Regions from separate parts of the Homo sapiens genome. Here regions 1, 2, 3, 4, 5 and 6 are each linked to region 7. Evidence: promoter capture Hi-C in 16 types of primary human blood cells and fetal thymus (Javierre and others, 2016). All regions are on one chromosome and are shown on one strand. The core of a region is centred on a gene start or on the middle of the fragment in contact, and the rest is flanking DNA. Distances in the headings are between cores, read along the strand shown.

What was found. Contacts are between HindIII fragments. The CHiCAGO score rates a contact against its expected background, and 5 or more counts as called.
Region 1: a fragment that was not itself captured here is called in contact with the fragment with the promoter of TPR in region 7 in 1 of 17 cell types (total CD4 T cells); the score reaches 11.9 in total CD4 T cells.
Region 2: a fragment that was not itself captured here is called in contact with the fragment with the promoter of TPR in region 7 in 4 of 17 cell types (naive CD8 T cells, non-activated CD4 T cells, total CD4 T cells and 1 more); the score reaches 10.2 in naive CD8 T cells.
Region 3: a contact is called between a fragment that was not itself captured here and the fragment with the promoter of TPR in region 7, in 1 of 17 cell types (naive B cells). The highest score is 5.7, in naive B cells.
Region 4: a fragment that was not itself captured here is called in contact with the fragment with the promoter of TPR in region 7 in 1 of 17 cell types (total CD4 T cells); the score reaches 7.0 in total CD4 T cells.
Region 5: a fragment that was not itself captured here is called in contact with the fragment with the promoter of TPR in region 7 in 1 of 17 cell types (total CD4 T cells); the score reaches 5.1 in total CD4 T cells.
Region 6: a contact is called between the fragment with the promoter of QSOX1 here and the fragment with the promoter of TPR in region 7, in 1 of 17 cell types (monocytes). The highest score is 5.9, in monocytes.

Annotation. Positions count from the first base shown.
Region 1 is chr1:179,942,920-179,945,619 of GRCh38, reverse strand. The region is part of intron 1 of LOC101928933 (a long non-coding RNA gene); the gene reads left to right. Among named protein-coding and RNA genes, the nearest start is that of CEP350, 11 kb to the left of the region's middle. The HindIII fragment of the contact is 162 bases long and covers 1,239-1,400 here.
Region 2 is chr1:179,889,774-179,892,473 of GRCh38, reverse strand. All of the region lies in intron 3 of TOR1AIP1 (torsin 1A interacting protein 1), which reads right to left. Among named protein-coding and RNA genes, the nearest start is that of TOR1AIP1, 8.8 kb to the right of the region's middle. The HindIII fragment of the contact is 2,159 bases long and covers 294-2,452 here.
Region 3 is chr1:192,810,009-192,812,708 of GRCh38, reverse strand. RGS2 (regulator of G protein signaling 2) reads right to left here. Exons shown (of 5, transcript NM_002923.4): 2 at 2,442-2,543; 3 at 2,278-2,339; 4 at 1,562-1,728; 5 at 434-1,307. The coding sequence ends at 1,113. Among named protein-coding and RNA genes, the nearest start is that of RGS2, 2.3 kb to the right of the region's middle. RefSeq lists a silencer at 2,417-2,476. The HindIII fragment of the contact is 2,270 bases long and covers 184-2,453 here.
Region 4 is chr1:179,906,809-179,909,508 of GRCh38, reverse strand. It overlaps TOR1AIP1 (torsin 1A interacting protein 1), which reads right to left. Exons shown (of 10, transcript NM_015602.4): 7 at 1,645-1,686; 8 at 836-904. Among named protein-coding and RNA genes, the nearest start is that of TOR1AIP1, 26 kb to the right of the region's middle. RefSeq lists a silencer at 471-673. The HindIII fragment of the contact is 7,492 bases long and covers 1-2,700 here.
Region 5 is chr1:180,046,216-180,048,915 of GRCh38, reverse strand. CEP350 (centrosomal protein 350) reads right to left here. Exons shown (of 38, transcript NM_014810.5): 22 at 211-380. Among named protein-coding and RNA genes, the nearest start is that of CEP350, 93 kb to the right of the region's middle. The HindIII fragment of the contact is 503 bases long and covers 1,059-1,561 here.
Region 6 is chr1:180,153,428-180,156,127 of GRCh38, reverse strand. QSOX1 (quiescin sulfhydryl oxidase 1) reads right to left here and starts at 1,259. Exons shown (of 12, transcript NM_002826.5): 1 at 956-1,259. The coding sequence starts at 1,220. LOC105371636 (a long non-coding RNA gene) reads left to right here and starts at 1,290. Exons shown (of 2, transcript XR_001738314.3): 1 at 1,290-2,129. RefSeq lists an enhancer at 985-1,084 and a silencer at 1,265-1,584. The HindIII fragment of the contact is 9,170 bases long and covers 1-2,700 here.
Region 7 is chr1:186,373,916-186,376,615 of GRCh38, reverse strand. It overlaps TPR (translocated promoter region, nuclear basket protein), which reads left to right and starts at 1,363. Exons shown (of 51, transcript NM_003292.3): 1 at 1,363-1,738. The coding sequence starts at 1,588. ODR4 (odr-4 GPCR localization factor homolog) reads right to left here and starts at 778. Exons shown (of 14, transcript NM_017847.6): 1 at 642-778. RefSeq lists enhancers at 749-938, 1,109-1,158, 1,319-1,618 and a silencer at 2,179-2,228. The HindIII fragment of the contact is 6,872 bases long and covers 1-2,700 here.

The DNA.
Region 1 (2,700 bases), core at 70-2,569, 6.4 Mb after region 7:
AAAATAGTCCACATTCTCAAACTCTTTGTTACTAGACCAATAAGATAAAGAACTCATGCAAGGATGTAAATCAACTATGTCACTAAATATACTATTTAGGGATGAGCTGACTTTTTTTTTTTTTTTGAGACGGAGTCTCACTCTGTCCCCCAGGCTGGAGTGCAGTGGCGGGATCTCGGCTCACTGCAACCTCCGCCCTCCGGGTTCACGCCATTCTCCTGCCTCAGCCTCCCCAGTAGCTGGGACTACAGGCGCCCGCCACCACGCCCAGCTAATTTTTTGTATTTTTAGTAGAGATGGGGTTTCACCGTGTTAGCCAGGATGGTCTCGATCTCCTGACCTCGTGATCTGCCCGCCTCGGCGTCCCAAAGTGCTGGGATTACAGGCGTGAGCCACCGTGCCCAGCCAAGCTGACTTTTTTTAGATAAGACTTCCTTAATGAAGGAGACAGTATGATGATATATATTTTTACACAAGCTTCTTATCTCACTGCAGACTTGGATTAAATGGTTCGCCGCCGTAAGAAACTCACCCAGGTGCACAAGGAGACAAGTACAAGGAATTTTACAGAAGCATCGTTTATAATAGCAAAAATAGGAAATAACATGTCCATCAATAAAAGAATGGGTAGTAAACTGAGGAATATTCATACAATGAAAGACCAAGAAACAGTGAAAATAAATTTAAGGATGTATCACACAAATATAATTTTTAAAAAGCAGATTGCAGGCCAGACGCGGTGGCTCACGCCTGTAATCCCACAACTTTGGGAGGCTGAGGTGGGTGGATCATCTGAGATCGGGAGTTTGAGACCAGCCTCACCAACATGGAGAAACCCTATCTCTACCAAAAATACAAAAAATTAGCTAGGCATGGTGGTGCATGCCTATAATCCCAGCTACTCGGGAGGCTGAGACAGGAGAATCACTTGAACCCAGGAGGCCGAGGTTGTGCTGAGCCGAGATCGCACCATTGCACTCCAGCCTGGGCAACAAGAGCAAAACTCCATCTCAAAAAAACAAAAAAATTAGCTGGGTGTGGTGGTGGGCGCCTGTAGTCCCAGCTACTCGGGAGGCTGAGGCAGGAGAATCGCTTGAACCCGGGAGGCGGAGGTGGCAGTGAGCCGAGATCATGCCACTGCACTCCAGCCTGGCGACAGAGCGAGACTCCGTCTCAAAAAATAAAAATAAAAAGGTTGCAGATAGATATATATAGTATGATGCCACTTCCATAAAGCTTAAAAGCATGCACAGTACTGGTATAGATTATTTAGGAACACATACAAATGTAGTAAAAGATTTTTAAGTGCTGAGGAATAAAAAATACTAAATTCAGAAAAGTGATTACCTCCTGAGGGAGCAGAAGAGATTAATATGTGGTAGGGGTGAACATAGGAAGCTTCAACTATGTTGGTAACATTTGATTTCTTAAGCTAGGTGTGGATACACAGATGATTGTATTATTATCTTTGTAGCTTTTTTATTTTCAAAATATTAAATAATAAATTTTTAAAATAAAAATAAATAATAGAAATTTTAATATACTAGTGGGGAATGGGAGAAAGAACAGCCAAGAAGGAGGCATAAAGGTTACAAGAAAATAACTTCACACAGTTGAAATGATATCCTACTGATTTGAGGCTTAAGAAACTTTTCCTCTTTGTAACCCTGGACAGACAAATACAGTTGTTATTTTTATCGAAGTTTAAGCCAAAATTTAAGAAAAAACAGCAGCAACTACCTTGAAGGTAAATTAGCAGCAGTTCCAGTAAGAAGTAACTACCCCTAGGGAACGGTAGGGCAGAATCAACTCTACCCATCCTGGCTCTAAGCTACTTTTTCTTTTATTTATTTATTTATTTATTTATTTTTGGATTTATTTTTATTTTATTTTTTTATTATACTTTAAGTTTTAGGGTACATGTACACATTGTGCAGGTTAGTTACATATGTATACATGTACCATGCTGGTGCGCTGCACCCACTAACTTGTCATCTAGCATTAAGTATATCTCCCAATGCTATCCCTCCCCCCTCCCCCCACCCCACAACAGTCCCCAGAGTGTGATATTCCCCTTCCTGTGTCCATGTGATCTCATTGTTCAATTCCCACCTATGAGTGAGAATATGCAGTGTTTGGTTTTTTGTTCTTGCGATAGTTTACTGAGAATGATGATTTCCAATTTCATCCATGTCCCTACAAAGGACGTGAACTCATCATTTTTTATGGCTGCATAGTATTCCATGGTGTATATGTGCCACATTTTCTTAATCCAGTCTATCATTGTTGGACATTTGGGTTGGTTCCAAGTCTTTGCTATTGTGAATAATGCCGCAATAAACATATGTGTGCATGTGTCTTTATAGCAGCAGGATTTATAGTCCTTTGGGTATATACCCAGTAATGGGATGGCTGGGTCAAATGGTATTTCTAGTTCTAGATCCCTGAGGAATCGCCACACTGACTTCCACAATGGTTGAACTAGTTTACAGTCCCGCCAACAGTGTAAAAGTGTTCCTATTTCTCCACATCCTCTCCAGCACCTGTGGTTTCCTGACTTTTTAATGATTGCCATTCTAACTGGTGTGAGATGGTATCTCATTGTGGTTTTGATTTGCATTTCTCTGATGGCCAGTGATGATGAGCATTTTTTCATGTGTTTTTTGGCTGCATAAGCTAAGGTACTTTTTCAAACCAGCC
Region 2 (2,700 bases), core at 124-2,623, 6.5 Mb after region 7:
GAGACAGAGTTTTACTCTTTTTGCCCAGGCTGGAGTGCAATGGCGTGATTGCGGCTCACTGCAACCTCTGCATCCTGGGTATAAGTGATTCTCCTGCCTCAGACTCTCAAGCAGCTGGGGTTACAGTGCACAGCACCACCACGCCTGGCTAATTTTGTACTTTTAGTAGAGACGGGGTTTTGCCATGCCAGCCAGGCTGGTCTTGAACTCCTGACCTCAGGTGATCTGCCCACCTCAGCCTCCCAAAGTGCTGGGATTATAGGCGTGAGCCACCACACCCAGCCTAAAAAGCTTTTTTAAGTCTCTAAAGAAGTGGCCTGAACTTAAGTGAAAGATGAATTAGAGGAAGGTACAATGATTTATAAAGAAAAATGAAGCGTTTCCCTTTTGGCTCATCTTCAAATTTAGAAAATAATTAAAATGTAAAAAAAACTAAGTCTAACAACATTCAATGTAGATTCATTTAAAACCACAAATCATGGTATGTCATGTCCTATAGCCAGGCAGACACTGAAATGAATTAAAACCCGTTCAACGAACGTATTACAGCAAAGGACACTGAACTCGCCGTGAACAACGTATCGAATTCACTTTCTAAATGAAGAAAGGGCCAGGTGTGGTGGCTCACGCCTACAATCCCAAAACTCTGGGAGGCCGAGGCAGGTGGATTGCTTGAGGTCAGGAGTTCGAGACCAGCCTGACCAACATGGTGAAACCCCATCTCTACTAAATATACAAAAATTAGCTGGGTGTCATGGTGGTCATCTGTAATCCCAGCTGCTTGAAAGGCTGAGGCAGGAGAATCACTTGAACCAGGGAGGCAGAAGTTGCAGTGGGCCAAGATCACGCCATTGCACTCCAGCCTCGGTGATAGAGCAAGAGCCTGTCTCGAGAAAATAAAAATAAATAAATAAATAAAAATAAAAAATAAAAATAAAAATCAAGGAGAAAGGCCGGGCGTGGTGGCTCATGCCTGTAATCCCAGCACTTTGGGAGGCCAAGTGGGGTAGATCACAAGGTCAGGGAGTTTGAAACCAGCCTGGCCAACATGGTGAAACCCTGTCTCTACTAAAAATACAAAACAAGTAGCTGGGCGTGGTGGTGGGCACCTGTAATCCCAGCTACTTGGGAGGCTGAGGCAGGAGAATTGCTTGAACCTGGGAGGCAGACGTTGCAGTGAGCCGAGATCGCACCACGGTACTACAGCCTGGGTGACAGAGCAAGGCTCTGTCTCAGAAAAACAAAAACAAAAAATAAATCAAGAGAAAAACCTTAATTGGTAAGTTGTTATCTCCTTTTTCCTAATAGTGTGAATTTAATGAAGACTAGCAGGACTAAATTGATTACATGTTTTTATATGAATTTAAGCAATAATATAGGCATAATTATAGACAACAAAAACCAAGGCTGTTTATGGGAGGTCCTAGTCATAGGGACTGGGTCCCCACAAACTGACATAATAAATTAGTATTCTCAAGCCAATGACTAGATATATATACTCTTGTATTCTATTAATCTGGACCCTCAAAGAGACCTTGTAAGAATTAGAGATAGGGTTGGGCGCAGTTGTGCATGCCAATAATCCCAGCACTTTGGGAGGCCAAAGCGGGTGGATTGCTAGAGCCCAGGAATTCGAGACTAGCCTGGGCAACATGGTGAAACCCCATCTCTATAAAAAACACAGGAATCAGCCAGGCATGGTGATGCATGACTGTAGTTCCAGCTACTCCAGAGGCTGAAGTAGGAGGCTCAGTTGAGCCTCCAGAGTAGCTGGGACTACAATAGGAGGAGGAGGCTGCAGTGAGCCAAGATCACGCCACCGCACTCCAGCCTGGGTGAGAGTGAGACCCTGCCTGGAAAAAAAAAAGAATAGAAATAAACGAACATAATTCACTCATTTTAGTATTTCTATTTGTTTTGTATGTCGAATCTGCAAGAGACATAGCAAGAGAATGATTAGGGTTGAAAAGGAAATGCATCATATGGTTCTTTACCACAGGTTCATTAACAAAACCTTAGTAGATCTTTACCACTGGAATACTTAAAAGGATAGTCAACTATCTATCGAAATAAATCAACATCATTCTTTGATAAAGAGAATGGGAAGGTACAGAAGCCTAATATAAAGATAAATACATTTCCTTTTTAGTTCCCATGATAAAGCATCTTTAAGAGCCAAAAAAACAAGGAAAATGAAGTAAAAGTAGACTGCTTGGAGTGTCTTTACTAGTTTTCTTCATAGTCATGAAATCAATTTCAGGGCAATACTTTTAATCGTTTTAGTCAAAAAGATAACTGAGGGAGGGACATTTTGTCGTTCTGTGCCACAGAGCTCCAGCTTGAATTTTTTGTTAGCAGTATACTGGAAGAATAAAGTCCCTGACCATAGTTTAAAATCATCATAAAGAATCACAGGAATATATAAGAAACAATCTCTTTAAAAAAGGAAGCTTTTTATATATGAATATAGAAATATCTCTGTATATATGTTAAGTAAAAATAAACAAGAAAGTGCAGAAAAGTAAGCCAGGTGCCGTGGCTCATGCCTGTAATCCCAGCACTCTGGGAGGCTGAGGTGGGTGGATCACTTACCCAGGCGTTTGAGATCATGTGGGTAACATGGCAAAACCCCATCTCTACAAAAGATACAAAAATCAGCCAGGCGTGGTGGTGGATGCATAGTCTCAGCTACTTGGCAGG
Region 3 (2,700 bases), core at 69-2,568, 6.4 Mb before region 7:
GAGCTTGGAACCAATGGAAAGTAAATAAAGACAGGCATACATTGACCTTATTTGGCTTCTTTCTTCATTTGAGAAGCTTAATTATGTGAATAATTTTTGTGCTTGTCTCCATTACATTTACTTCTCATATTTAGCTGGTACTTAGATACAGAATCCTTTAGATCAGTGTTTCATTAACAAGCTTGATTTTTTTTTAAGATTAGAAAGCATAAATGCAGTGGTTCTAAGGATGTGACTTCCTTAGGTCTGCATAATGCTTATAGGTTTTAAAAAAAGAATTATCTGTCTGCAACTATCATTTCTCAGTTCTGAAGACTGTCAATTCTCACTGGGCAGGCACAAAAACTGAAATGTCTTTTACTATAAAGATGTTTTCCCTTTATCTGCCACATTTCCAGTTATCAAAAATAAAATCACATCTAGACTCCAAGTGTTCAATATTATTTATCAAAATAAATTTATTAAAAGTATTCAAAGACCACTTCAAAGTGTAGCTGCCTTCAAGACAGATTTTTGGCACTCATAACGGACACTGCAGTTTTCAACACCATAGCACTCATTCTATTTCACACATCATTTTTAACAATGCAAACACGGACCATTTCAGTTTTAGCATTACATGAGACAACAGTACTGATGATCTGTGGTCATAAGAACTTCAATACCGTTGCACATAGTAAACACTTCACTGTTACTGAATCCTAAACTAAAACTACTATGTGGTAACATGGATCGATTTAGGGAAAGATGTACAACCAGCTACCTAAGGCCACATAATCCCAGATCTATTGATTTTAAATGCTTTTGGACCAACAGTATTACATTGTCTCTTTCATCATCTTACATTCCTGCTTTTCAGAGTGAGACACCACGTTCAGACCACCTATTCCCTTCTTGCGTTCTGTACACAGTGAGGGAAGCTGTTCTGATACCAGCTTCTCCTAGTCAGTTACTGGCTTCCTGATTCACTACCCAACTTTGAATCAATAGTTCTGAGTGATGTTTCCTGAACACCCAGGCTGAATTCAAGGTCAGTCTTTATGGCAGGTCACAGTCCTTCCCCTCAGGAAAAAGAATGAAATGTCCTCCATTTCTGGGCTCCCTTTTACATTTCATGTAGCATGAGGCTCTGTGGTGATTTGTGGCTTTTTACACAAGTCCTGGTAGAATTCTGACTCCAAGAAACGAGGATAAGAGTTGTTCTCCATCAAGCTGTATACCCTTTTCTGGGCAGTTGTAAAGCAGCCACTTGTAGCTTCTTGTATATTCTGGGCAATCAGAGTTTTGGTTTGAAAATCTATGTTTATCTGAAATAAAACAAAAAAGTTGTTTATTTGGTATTCAGAGTTAAAGATTAAAATTTAGTATTTGAAAACAAAAAATAAAAATTATGTGTGATTAGCTTTACTAGCTAAGTCACAGGAGAACTTTAACATAACTGAAAGCTACAACGTGGAGGGACTTTTTACCCCTCCTAGCCCGCTTTGTCCTTGATTACTTTGTTTCACTTTTGTGCTAAAGATGTCCAGATTGTGCTGAAATTAGGAACTTGTTTCCTTACCTCTTTTGGAGCTTCCTTTTCTATGAAGTCAGTATATATTTTCCTTGCTTTTGAGGACAGCTTTTGGGGTGATTTGGTTTTTTTGAAGTCTTCACAGGCCAGCCAGAATTCAATATTTTCTTCACAGAATTCCGACTTTAAAAAAGCCCTGAATGCAGCAAGACCATCTGAAGGGGGGAGAAAAGAGAGCATGCAGAATGTGAAGAACTGAGAGACCAAATGATTCCTTATGTTTCTCCTATCCCTCACATTTTAATTATTTCTAAATGAATTTTCTAGATTTCGCTCAAACCTGTAATTCTCAAAATTTAGCTTTTTAAAGACTAAGATACCAGTAGGCAAAAGGCTTATGTTGGCACTCTGCTGCAAAAATATAAGTACTTTGCTGTCAATGCAAAGTAAATATTTATAGGGGAGCCATAAATTCTCTGGGAACTAAGCCTCTTGAAAACATTGTATGCAATGGAAAAACTGACTCAACCTTAACTATAAGCAACTGCCACTTTAATTTGTTTAGGCTGATTTTCTTCCCCACCTGGAGAGAATATATGCATTTATTTGTTAAACCCTGGGAAATAAAGGAAAGAAAAACAGGCTTTATCCTATAGTGACTGCAGTCTAATCCCCCTCAGGCAAGCTGCTCTTTTGTTAGGTGGACGCAGCCTTTCCAGGCTTTTGCGATGTTAGCAATGGCTCAAGCTCAAGAGTTAACTTACATTTGCTGGCTAGCAGCTCGTCAAATGCTTCTGACCACAGCTGTGCTTCCTCAGGAGAAGGCCTGCAAGAGAGGTTCTGTATGTTAGCTTACGCACATCAGAGTTCCCCTTTTCAGTTCAGCAGCTAACTATTGATATTTGCAAGCACAGGATTCTCAACTTACTTGATGAAAGCTTGCTGTTTGCTTTTTTTGCCGGTTTTGGGCTTCCCAGGAGTAGAGGAATTTTGTAAGAAGTAGCTCAAACGGGTCTTCCAATCTTTTAAACTAAAACAAAAAATTAAAAAGATAATTACTAACTAGCAACACTTGAATATGCTACTGCAGCTGAACGCATTTTTACCAAATAAAGTCACCCAGTAACTAGAGACAAACCGCATAAGGCAAAGCAAGAACTCTTCAAATAAGTCTTATCCACCTAACA
Region 4 (2,700 bases), core at 51-2,550, 6.5 Mb after region 7:
AACCCGGGAGGCAGAGGTTGCAGTGAACTGAGGTTGCACCACTGTACTCCAGCCTGGGCAACACAGCAAGACTCCATCTCAAAAACAAAACAAAACAAAACAAAACAAAACAAAACAAAACAAAAAACAGAAAAAAAACCCTAAACATGAAAATATAACTTGTGCATTTCAGCCTTTATTATGTAAAATTATGAGTATACAAAGCTGTTCCAAAATCTGCTAAAAGCAAAAAATAAGTATTGTCAAAAGAGTAGAATTTCATTATTGTATACAGACTGTATTGCTGCTATAACTGACAGCTTGTTAAAATCCATCAATCTCTGGTTTTCTCTTTTTTTTTCTTTTTTTCAGATGGAGTCTCGCTCTGTCGCCCAGGCTGGAGTGCAGTGGTGCAATCTTGGCTCACTGCAAGCTCCGCCTCCTGGGTTCACACCATTCTCCTGCTTCAGCCTCCCGAGTAGCCTCCCGCCGCCACGCCCAGCTAATTTTTCTTTTTTAAATATTTTTAGTAGAGACGAGGTTTCACCGTGTTAGCCAGGATGGTCTCGATCTCCTGACCTCGTGATCCACCCACCTCGGCCTCCCAAAGTGCTGGGATTACAGGCGTGAGCCACCGCACCTGGCCAATCTCTGGTTTTCTCACGCCACTATTTACATTCTACACCCAGCCCATGTGCTGCCAGTCCAAGAAATTACTAAACTAGTAATCATAGCTGTACTTTATTAGTGAAATCACAAACAACCTAAATGTTTATCTGAAGAACTAAATATTTTTGTCAAGAAAAACATAGCAAATACACAAGATTATTTCAATAACAGAGATTTATCTACTTACTTTGCATCCTGGTCCTTATTCTTGCAGTTTGTGGGGCCCATTCCTGGGGAGTTTTTTGATATCCTGAGCCTGAAGCAAATACATATATCAAAAGATAATTTCCCATACTTTGAAAGTTTATACCATATTCCAGTGTTATAAAATTAATCTATCAGAAAGACAAAATAAAGTAGGGGAAGAAAACAATAAAAGCAATAGTTTTATAAGTAAAAGATAATTTCAAAGGATCGTATCAGTGAGGATGAACCACTTCCTACAGCAAAGCAGGTAGCAAATAAATATATTATCACATAATACAAATTACTTGTGGTAAAATAGCCCTGAACACATTTCCATATCACAGAGTAATTATTATAGGTAGTACCAATCCGTGGTGAATTAAAAAGGTAAAGAGGGGTAAAATGACTTAAAATCTTATTACAACTTTTGTTGGGAGAATAAGGCAAGGTTAGAATTGATTGACTGAGGCTGGGTGCGGTGGCTCACACCTGTAATTCCAGCACTTTGGGAGGCCGAGGCAGGTGGATCATGAGGTCAGGAGATCAAGACCATCCTGGCTAACACAGTGAAACACCGTCTCTACTAAAAATACAAAAAATTAGCCGGGCGTGGTGGCGGGCGCCTGTAGTCCCAGCTACTTGGGAGGCGGAGGCAGGAGAATCGCGTGAACCCAGGAGGTGGAGCTTGCAATGAGCCCAGATTGCACTCCAGCCTGGGCGACAGAGCAAGACATCGTCTCAAAAAAAAAAAAAAAAAAAAAGAGAAAAGAATTGATTGGCTGAAAAAAGAGCAGACAACCAACTACTTACTTAGCACTGAAGGTTGCTTATCATGAGCTGTGAAGTTTTGACCTGAAACAGAAAACAGGGATAAGGTCATAGAATACTTGAAAATAACAACAAAAAAGATGTTGCACAGACATTTTGCTTGTTTACTGTGGATACTAAAAACAAACAACAGACAAAAAACATTCTCTCATCAATTCCAAGCATATAAATATATAAAGTATATATATATAAAAAACATACATATACTATATATATACATATATATACATATATATATATATATATATATATAAAGTGTGTGTGTATTTCTTTCCCCCTCATTTCTAAACTTCAAAATGTTTAGGAATTGGGCAACAATAAGGAGTTAGTTTAGGATCAGTACCATCAAAATAAAAACTACATATAGTCATATATATCAAGTATAATTTTGTTTAATTCTTTTTTTTTTTTTTTTTTTGAGACAGGGTCTGACTCTGTCACCCAGGCTGGAATGCAGTGGCACAATCTCAGCTCACTGCAACCTCCGCTTCCCAGGTTCAAGATATTCTCCTGCCTCACCTTCCCAAGTACTTGGGATTACAGGTGTGCACCACCATGCCTGACCAAATTTTTTGTCTTTTTAGTAGAGACAGGGTTTCCCCATGTTGGCCAGGCTGGTCTCAAACTCCTGACCAGGGTTTCACCATGTTGGCCAGGCTGGTCTCAAATTCCTGACCTCAAATGCTCTGCCTGCCTCGCCCTCCCAAAGTGCTGGGATTACAGGCATGAGCCACCATGCCCAGCCAATTTTGCTTAATTCTTATGTGGTAGATGCTATTACTGTTCGTATTTTATAAATAAGGGAAAATCAGCTGGATGCGGTGGCTCATGCCTGTAATCCTAGCACTTTGGGAGGCCAAGGCAGGTGGATCATGAGGTCAGGAGATCGAGACCATCCTGGCTAACACGGTGAAACCCCGTCTCTACTAAATATATAAAAAATTAGCCAGGCGTGGTGGTGGGCGCCTGTAGTCCCAGCTACTCGGGAGGCTGAGGCAGAAGAAGGGCGTGAACCTGGGAGGCGGAGCTTGCAGTGAG
Region 5 (2,700 bases), core at 61-2,560, 6.3 Mb after region 7:
AATTTTTTTGTAGCGACAGAGGTCTCCCTATGTTTCCCTGGCTGGTTTCAAACTCCTAGGCTCAAGCAATTCTCCCAGCTCAGCCTCCCAAAGTGCTGGAATTACTGGCATGAGCCACCACATCCAGCTTATTTGCCACTTTATAACAAGGATCACCTTTCCTCTGGTTTCTGAACAAATGATTACACATTTATTTGCAAAGAAAGTTACCTTTTTCATCAGGAAGAGATGGAACACTATCACTTCGTAGAGAATCATCTGCAGCAGTCTGAACCTGTTCATCAATGGAACTCTCTATCTTTTCACCATTAAGTTTCTTCTCATTTTCCTTACAAGATGGAACTGAAGGACTTTCTTGGCGGCTGCTACCACTGCTACTTCTTTTTATGGATACATGGAAACAACAACAACAAAATTAACAAAATAAGGATTATAGCTTCAAAGTAAACTTATTTGGCCAAATGACTGTACTTTATAGTCAAGATAAAAATGAAGAAAGATGTAATATAAAACAGAAAAAGCTAAGTAACATAAGTCTGAGAATATATTGGAAAAGATGAGAAAGATGAGTAGGAGAGAGGAAGGTTTCACTTTTAAATAATAATAATAGGCAGTGTTGTTAGGTTATCACTCCCTTTTTTCCTTTCATTTCAAAATCAAACTTCTGGGAAAGGGAGCTACTACTCACTGTTTCCACTTCTTTACTTTTCATTAACATCACGATTTATCACAATCTGCTTCCACCCCAACTGCTCTACTAAAACTGTTCTAAATAAGCTTAATCTATACTTTGAATTGCCAAATCCAATACATAATTTATTGCTTTGCAATATTAGATGTTGACCATATCTCCTTCTTTAAAAGCTCTACTTGCTAAATAAAATGTAGTAAAATGTTAGAATAATCTGGATGAAAGATATTTGAGGACTTTCTATTATTCTTGCAACTTTTCTATAAGCTTGAAATCATGTCAAAATTAAATGTTAAATAAAAGAGCCCTCCCTTCTTATATCCTATGATTTTACTCTCACCTGCTTTTCCCATCTCTCTAACAAGCTTTCCTTGTTTCTTTCATTTGCTTTAAATTTTTCTGTCTTTCCTTAAAATTGATGGTTCTGTTTTGGTCCTTTTCTTTTCTTTTTTTTTTTTTTTTTTTTTGAGGAGTTTCATTCTGTCGCCCAGGCTGGAGTGCAGTGGCACAATTTGGTTCACTGCAACCTCCACTTCCTGGATTCAAGAGATTCTCCTGCCTCAGCCTCCCGAGTAGCTAGGATTACAGGCATGTGCCACAACACCTGGCTAATTTTTTTTTTGTATTTTTAGTAGAGATGGGGCTTCGCTATGTTGGCCAGGCTGATCTTGAACTCCTAACCTCAGATGATCCACCTGCCTCGGTCTCCCAAAGTGCTGGGATTACAGATGTAAGCCACCATGCTGGCCCTCTTTCTCTTTTATATTACATATTCTCCTTGGGCAATCTTAACCATAACTTCAACTACTATCATTTAGAGTGAGCCTCAAATTTGTATCATTATCTTTGCCCTTCCCTTGATTTTAAGCTTCAAGTATTGAAATGCCATGTGAACTTCTGATTTTGGCTATTCCTCAGCCAACAAACGAAACGTATATTCCCCCAAGCTTTCTCCTCCTTACATTTCTTGGTTTATTCATTCATTACACAAGCCAGGTTAATATACTTAGGATCCTCAGCACATGCTTATTTCCTCTTCCAAAATGCCCTTGCTGCTGTGTCTGCCTAACGACCTATGGAATTCAAGAATCAGTTCAAGTGTTATTTCTAAGAAACTCCATGGATCCCACCCCAACTCTCAAGGAAGCTTTGGTCACTTCTGTCCCTGTGTTCATACTGTTTTTTTGTGTATATTTCTATGACAGTACTTATCAGAATATAATGCAATTGTTTGGTTTAATAAGTTTTTGAAAACATAAATCTTCTAATAAAGCAATAAGGTAAAAGATGTAATGCAGCACACAGTAGGGACTTTCAAGTCAGAAGGACATGGGGTTGAATCCCAATTCTACCAATTAGTAGTTATATGCTAATCATTCACTCAATAAACTTGTAGTAGATTGCCTACTGTGTGCTAGGTACTTTGCTAAGTTCTGGTGATACAAGTATGCATGGTCCCCCCTAAGATGGCTATAACAAAAAAAACAACAAGCATTGGTGAGGACTGTAGAAAAATTTTACGTGGTGGGAAAATAGTATAAAATGCTGCAGTTACTTTGGAAAATAGTTTTGCAATTCTTCAAAAATTTAAACATAGAGCTACCATACATGACCCAGCAATTCCATTCCTAAATATATACTCAAGAGAAATGAAAACATATCCACACAAAAGGTTATATGTGAATGTTCACAGCATTACTTATAATAGTTAAAAAGTGGAAACAACCCAAATGTCCACCAACTGATGAATGGATAAATAAAATGTGGGATATCCAGGCAATAGAATATAATTTGGCCATATAAACAAAGTAGTGATACATGCTACAACATGCATGAAACTTGAAAACATCATGCTAAGTGAAAGAAGTCAGTTACAAAGGGCCACATACTGTAATGATGCCATTTATATAAAAAATCCAGAATAGGCAAATCCATAGAGAACGGAGATAGGAAACAGATTAGTGGTTGCCAGAGGAGGGTATAGGGAGTAACTGCTAATGGTTACTGAG
Region 6 (2,700 bases), core at 10-2,509, 6.2 Mb after region 7:
ATATTAATTACTATTATTACCATATTTCCTCGACTCTAAGTCTTAAGTGTTTCAAAATTTTAGCATTTCTGTAATAGAGTTCACCTTCAAATCTTTATACATGTAGTGGTTTTTTCCTATCCTTCTACCCCTTGGGCTGTCATAAAATGAACAGTGTGTCTCACAGTTGATGGTGTCTTGGAATTCAGGAAATATAGTTTTGGTGCCCCAACCAGGGATTGGGAACATGGAGCAAGAGCCAAACACGCACCAAAGGCCTCTGGGTGCATGGGTTTAAAATATAAGGGTCTGAGCGGGGGAAGAGAGAGAAGGATGTGGCCCAGAAGCTAAGGAGCTGGAGGCGGCAGGTCAGGAGAGGCCCGGAACAGAGATAGGAAAACTGCCAGGTGGACATACCCACATCAAAGACAAAAATGAGAAAGGAAGTCTATGTACCACCTGGTCAACCAGTCGAGGGAGTGGAGAAAGGTGGCAGGGAGGCAAAATGGATGTCCGTTCCCTTTTCTCCCCAGCACTGACCCACAGCAGCTAGGGAACCTGGCAGGAAGATGACATGGGTCCCTGGACGAGAGGAAGAGGACTGCCACAAGGCTGGCCCAGGAAACGGTAAGGTGTCAGCGGACCATGCGGAGGAAGGAACAAAGGAGACCTCTCGCAGGGAAGGAGGCAGTAACCTGGCGGGGGACGAACCGGGCGAGCAGGGCAGGTCTGGGGGCCCAGGCCGCGGAGAGGGAAAGAAGCTCGGGATGAGGGCCAAGAGGAAAAGGCAAGGGAGCGGGAGGCAAAAATGGAGCTGAGAAACATGAAGGTGGTGGGCGTGGGATGCGCGGAGAGGAAGAGGTGGGCGGAGGTGACTGGAAGAGGGACGCGCTCCCGGAGTAGGAGGCTGCCCACCGGGCAGGTGGAGGGGTCCGGGCGGCGGGGCACGGGGGAGCGGGCCGCCCCCGCTTCTCACCTTTGACGTCTTCGGCCAGCGCCTTCCACGTCGGGGCGAAGGCGATGCAGTGGCCGCACCAGGAGGCGAAGAACTCCACGGCCCAGGCGCTGCGGGAGCCCAGCACCGCGCCGCGCACCGTGTCCGCCTGCAGCAGCGTCAGCGGGTCGGAAGGCGAATAGAGCGCCGACCGCGGGGCCGCGTTAGCGCCGGGAACCGCGAGCAGCCACAGCAGCAGCAGCAGCAGCGACGGCGGCGGCCCGGAGCCGCTGTTGCACCTCCTCATCCTCGGCGCTGCGCTCACCACCACACGCAAGCACCGGATGAGTCGGGTCCCGGCGCCGCGGCACCGCCTGCCTCCGCCCGCAAGGAGGAGCCACGTGGCCCCGCCCCTGAGCCCCCGCCCCCGAGCCCCCGCCCCCGAGGCCGGCCCAGCCACCCCGCCCCGCCGGCCGCTCCTGGGCGCGGGAGCGGGCGGGGCTGAGCTTGTTGCAGGGGCTGGCCCTGGCCGGGTGGTGAGCCATCCTTTCGCGGTCCGCCGAGGCCTCGGAGCAGCGCGACCCGGGTTCCCGCCTCAGGCCCCAGGAGGCGAGGTGTACAGTCCGGTAAAGGAATGGAGCGCCCGCCGAGCGGTCGCTGCGGGGGTAGCCTCGCGGAGGTTGTTTGGCCTCTCACGGCCCCCGTATCCAACGGAAGAGGAGTCCGTTGGAATAGACGACCCGGATTTCGGCTGTTGTAGGGCAGTTCCTGGGCTCCCGCGGAGCGATGAGACGTTGTGAATTAGATGTGAGAAGAGGGACGCTTGGTCTGCGACCACCAAGACCCCACAGGATCGATGCACCCACCCCTGCTGATGACCATGACCATCTAAAGGGGAACATCATTTGAGGGGCCCTACTCATGGATCAGAAGCCCCTCTTCACTGTGGGGTGTGCTGGGTTGGCGGGCAGTTGCCGTGGAATCAGTTTCCTCAGGACCCATATCTGACCACCCTCATAAGGTTGTCAGGGCGATTCCAACATTCGGGGTTCCCAGCAGCCCAGATCCCCCACATCCAGCTCTTCAGCCTACTCAGAGCTCTCCACGCTCACTCACATGTCCCTCTCGCAAGTAGCCCGATCAACTCACCTGGTGTCATGGGCACTAAGGTGTTAATGGATTTTCTCTGGTCACCTTTGCAGCTCCACTGTTTTGAGTGAGTTATTTTAAGGGGAGAAGGTGCTCCTCAGACGGTTGTCACAGTGATATTTTTCCTTTGTGACTGCCAGGTTAGCCCCTTTCACCTGTAAGAGCTTTGAGCCTAGATTTGTTATTCATTTATTCAAGTTTTACTGAGTGGTGTCATGCCAGGCACTTGTTTAGGTATAAGGATAAGGCAGTAAACAAAATATAGACTCTAGGGACGTGGAACTTACATTCCAGTGGGGGTAAAGAGATGATACATAAGTAAATGTAGATCAGATGGTGACCGATGTTATGAAGAAATGTAGACTGGGGTAAGAATAGAGTGGCAGAGGAGGTGCTATTTTACACACGAAGATCAGGGACAGGTCTACCCTTAATATTTGCAAGAACTGAGTCAGTAGTACAAATGGAGGCCCACATATCATGTCTACATATTTTAAAACTACAAATTAAACGGTGATGTAAAATTCCTATCCTTTTATCTTGACATGTATACCTTCATCATAATCTGGAAGGCCACATTTAAGTTTAGGATTCTTGGACCCTTCTGAGATACGCCCTCGAATGTAGTGCTTTGGAGG
Region 7 (2,700 bases), core at 114-2,613:
ATGCTTCCATTTATATTTCTTAGACGGCTTCACAACATGATTCAAAAGTAAGAACTAGAGAAAAAGAATAAATTTCATATAAGAACTAAATCACCAATTCACAGAAGGCCCACGACTGTGGGAACTGCAGAGAGACGACACTGGGAATGCATTATTTACAATGAATAATTTAACAAATTCTTTCATAAGAGTAAACACGAAACAATCTACGGATTGAGCTTTAAAACTACAGAATTATGATCTGGAACCATACAAGTTCTGTTACTGTAGAAATTAACAATGTGTTTAAAAACTTCAGTTACAACAGTTTTCAATTTTAAAAACAATATAATGTTAGGTAACCGTTTCTGCAACGAAAAATTTAAAACATAGGCTACACTCAAAGTGCTACCGGTTTCTTTTAATTCTCCTCCTGAAGAATTAACCCGGGTCCTTAAATTCCCGGGTACTGAATCACTCAGTGCCACCTCCCCACCACCAAAAACCATTTAGGTACGCCGTTTCACACAAGGTAAGTTCGTCAGAAGTGTGTGCCGGAGTGACTGTCCATATGGTTCCAACACTGTCCCTTCCTTTTTCTCTTGAAAAGAGAGCACACACACACACACACACACACACACACTACACTTAGGCTGACTTACCTGTTTTCAGAATGTGCACTCGTGGCAGACAATTACCTCGGACGGTCTCTCCGCCGGAGATGGGGGTTTCGGGCCCAAGTACCAGCCTCTAGGGGCCAGATTCCCTCCGGTCTCAATTCACTGCCACTGAATTCATCAGAAAGCGACCTACTTCCCACACCTCACTTCCCACTCCAAAGCCAGGGACTTGGGAGTCAGGTGGCGCAGATTGATGACGTAAAAGCCCCCCCTCCCTTCCCCGCAGAGCCTCAGCCAAAGCGACTGCGGTCGCCACCCCGCCCCCTTCTGGGCGCCATAGAGAGCGTGGCGGTATCCCGGAGCCTGCCGTCCGGCCCTACCGGGACCGATGCCCTCTAGTGGCTCAGTGTCCAGAAGCCGCCAACGAGGACGATCCATGGCATCCCGGGGCTTTGACGGTAAGGTCACCAGCTCTTCAGGGAGGGCCAAGGGGTGACGAGTACGTATGTGGCGCCACCGTGCGGACAGCGGTTACGGGGCCGAGATAGGAGAGCCAGGGGAGCGGGGAGAAAAACGGAAGCTGAGAGGGCGGTGCAGCATTGGGCTCCCGGAAAAGAATGAGAAAAACACTACATTTCCCAGAGCCCTACAAGGCCTGAAGTGGGTGGAGCTGGAAGCCGGAAAATTGGGTGCGCAAGAGGATCAGGGATAGCCTCTGAGCTCGGGTTCCCAGGGTTCGTAGCTTCCAACGGCTGCGCGCGCACTTCGGTCGCGGGCGGTGAGGTGCTGTTGCTGAAACGCTGCCGCTGAGGGTGGACTCGATTTCCCAGGGTCCCGCCGCGGGAGTCTCCGGCGGGCGGGCGCGCGCGAGCCACCGAGCGAGGTGATAGAGGCGGCGGCCCAGGCGTCTGGGTCCTGCTGGTCTTCGCCTTTCTTCTCCGCTTCTACCCCGTCGGCCGCTGCCACTGGGGTCCCTGGCCCCACCGACATGGCGGCGGTGTTGCAGCAAGTCCTGGAGCGCACGGAGCTGAACAAGCTGCCCAAGTCTGTCCAGAACAAACTTGAAAAGTTCCTTGCTGATCAGCAATCCGAGATCGATGGCCTGAAGGGGCGGCATGAGAAATTTAAGGTGGAGAGCGGTAAGTGAGATGCTCTTTCCGTCCTTGGTTTTGGGCTCGACTCCCGCCCTTTGGGTCTGGTCTTCCCCCATCAAGTTGGCACTGGGTACCGCTCTGTTAACCTCACTTCCTGGGCTCTGTGGATATCCTGAGCCTTCGCTTTCCTGCTCCTTACAGTTTGATAAGAAGCCTTTGAAAAAAAAATCTGAATCTAAGTTCAGTAGCATTTTCTTTGTAGTTAGGGTAGGCTCATACAGGGACGCTTATTTTCCTTCGTCCGGCAGACGGGAAACAGACTTGATAGAGTCTGCGAACCCATCTCTCTAAGCCTAGAGTACCTTATATGTTTTGTTGCACTTCAACTGATAGTGGCTCCGCCCTATTTTCTAGGCACCTGCATTCTAGGCCTTTGCCAAATTGACCACTCTGTGCACTTGTTCTTAGTGTGTGCGTCGTCCCGTGGCTCCAGAACGAATCAGATGTTTACAAAAATGAATATTAGGTGCATAAGAGCGCTGGAAACACAGTGAATGTGCAGTACATAAATTTAATATATCTTGATTTCTCTTAAAAAGTTGGAGTTTGATAGAAAACATTAAAATTTTCTTGTAATTACCTAAAGTAGGCCTTTAAGTAAGAAAGTTACTGACAATAATGGCTTGAACATCCTTGAAAAAAATATGAAGAATATAGTCATTACCATTAGTAAAATACAAACTTCCCGTTAATGTGTTTTGGTTTACCATTTGTTTGGGGAGGTTCATACTGTTCTTGCTAAGTTGACTGGAAATTCTGAACAAGTTTTTACTTCAAAAAAAGTGTAACTGTCAAGCAGAATTGACCTTGAAAATTAGTTCTCTGATCCCAGAGCTGAGTATAGTACATTGCATTCTATTTATTAATTTGCACCATAAATATTGAATGTCTTACATGTTCCTGATACTATGCTGAACATGATATTCAATCCCTTCCCTTGGAAAGTT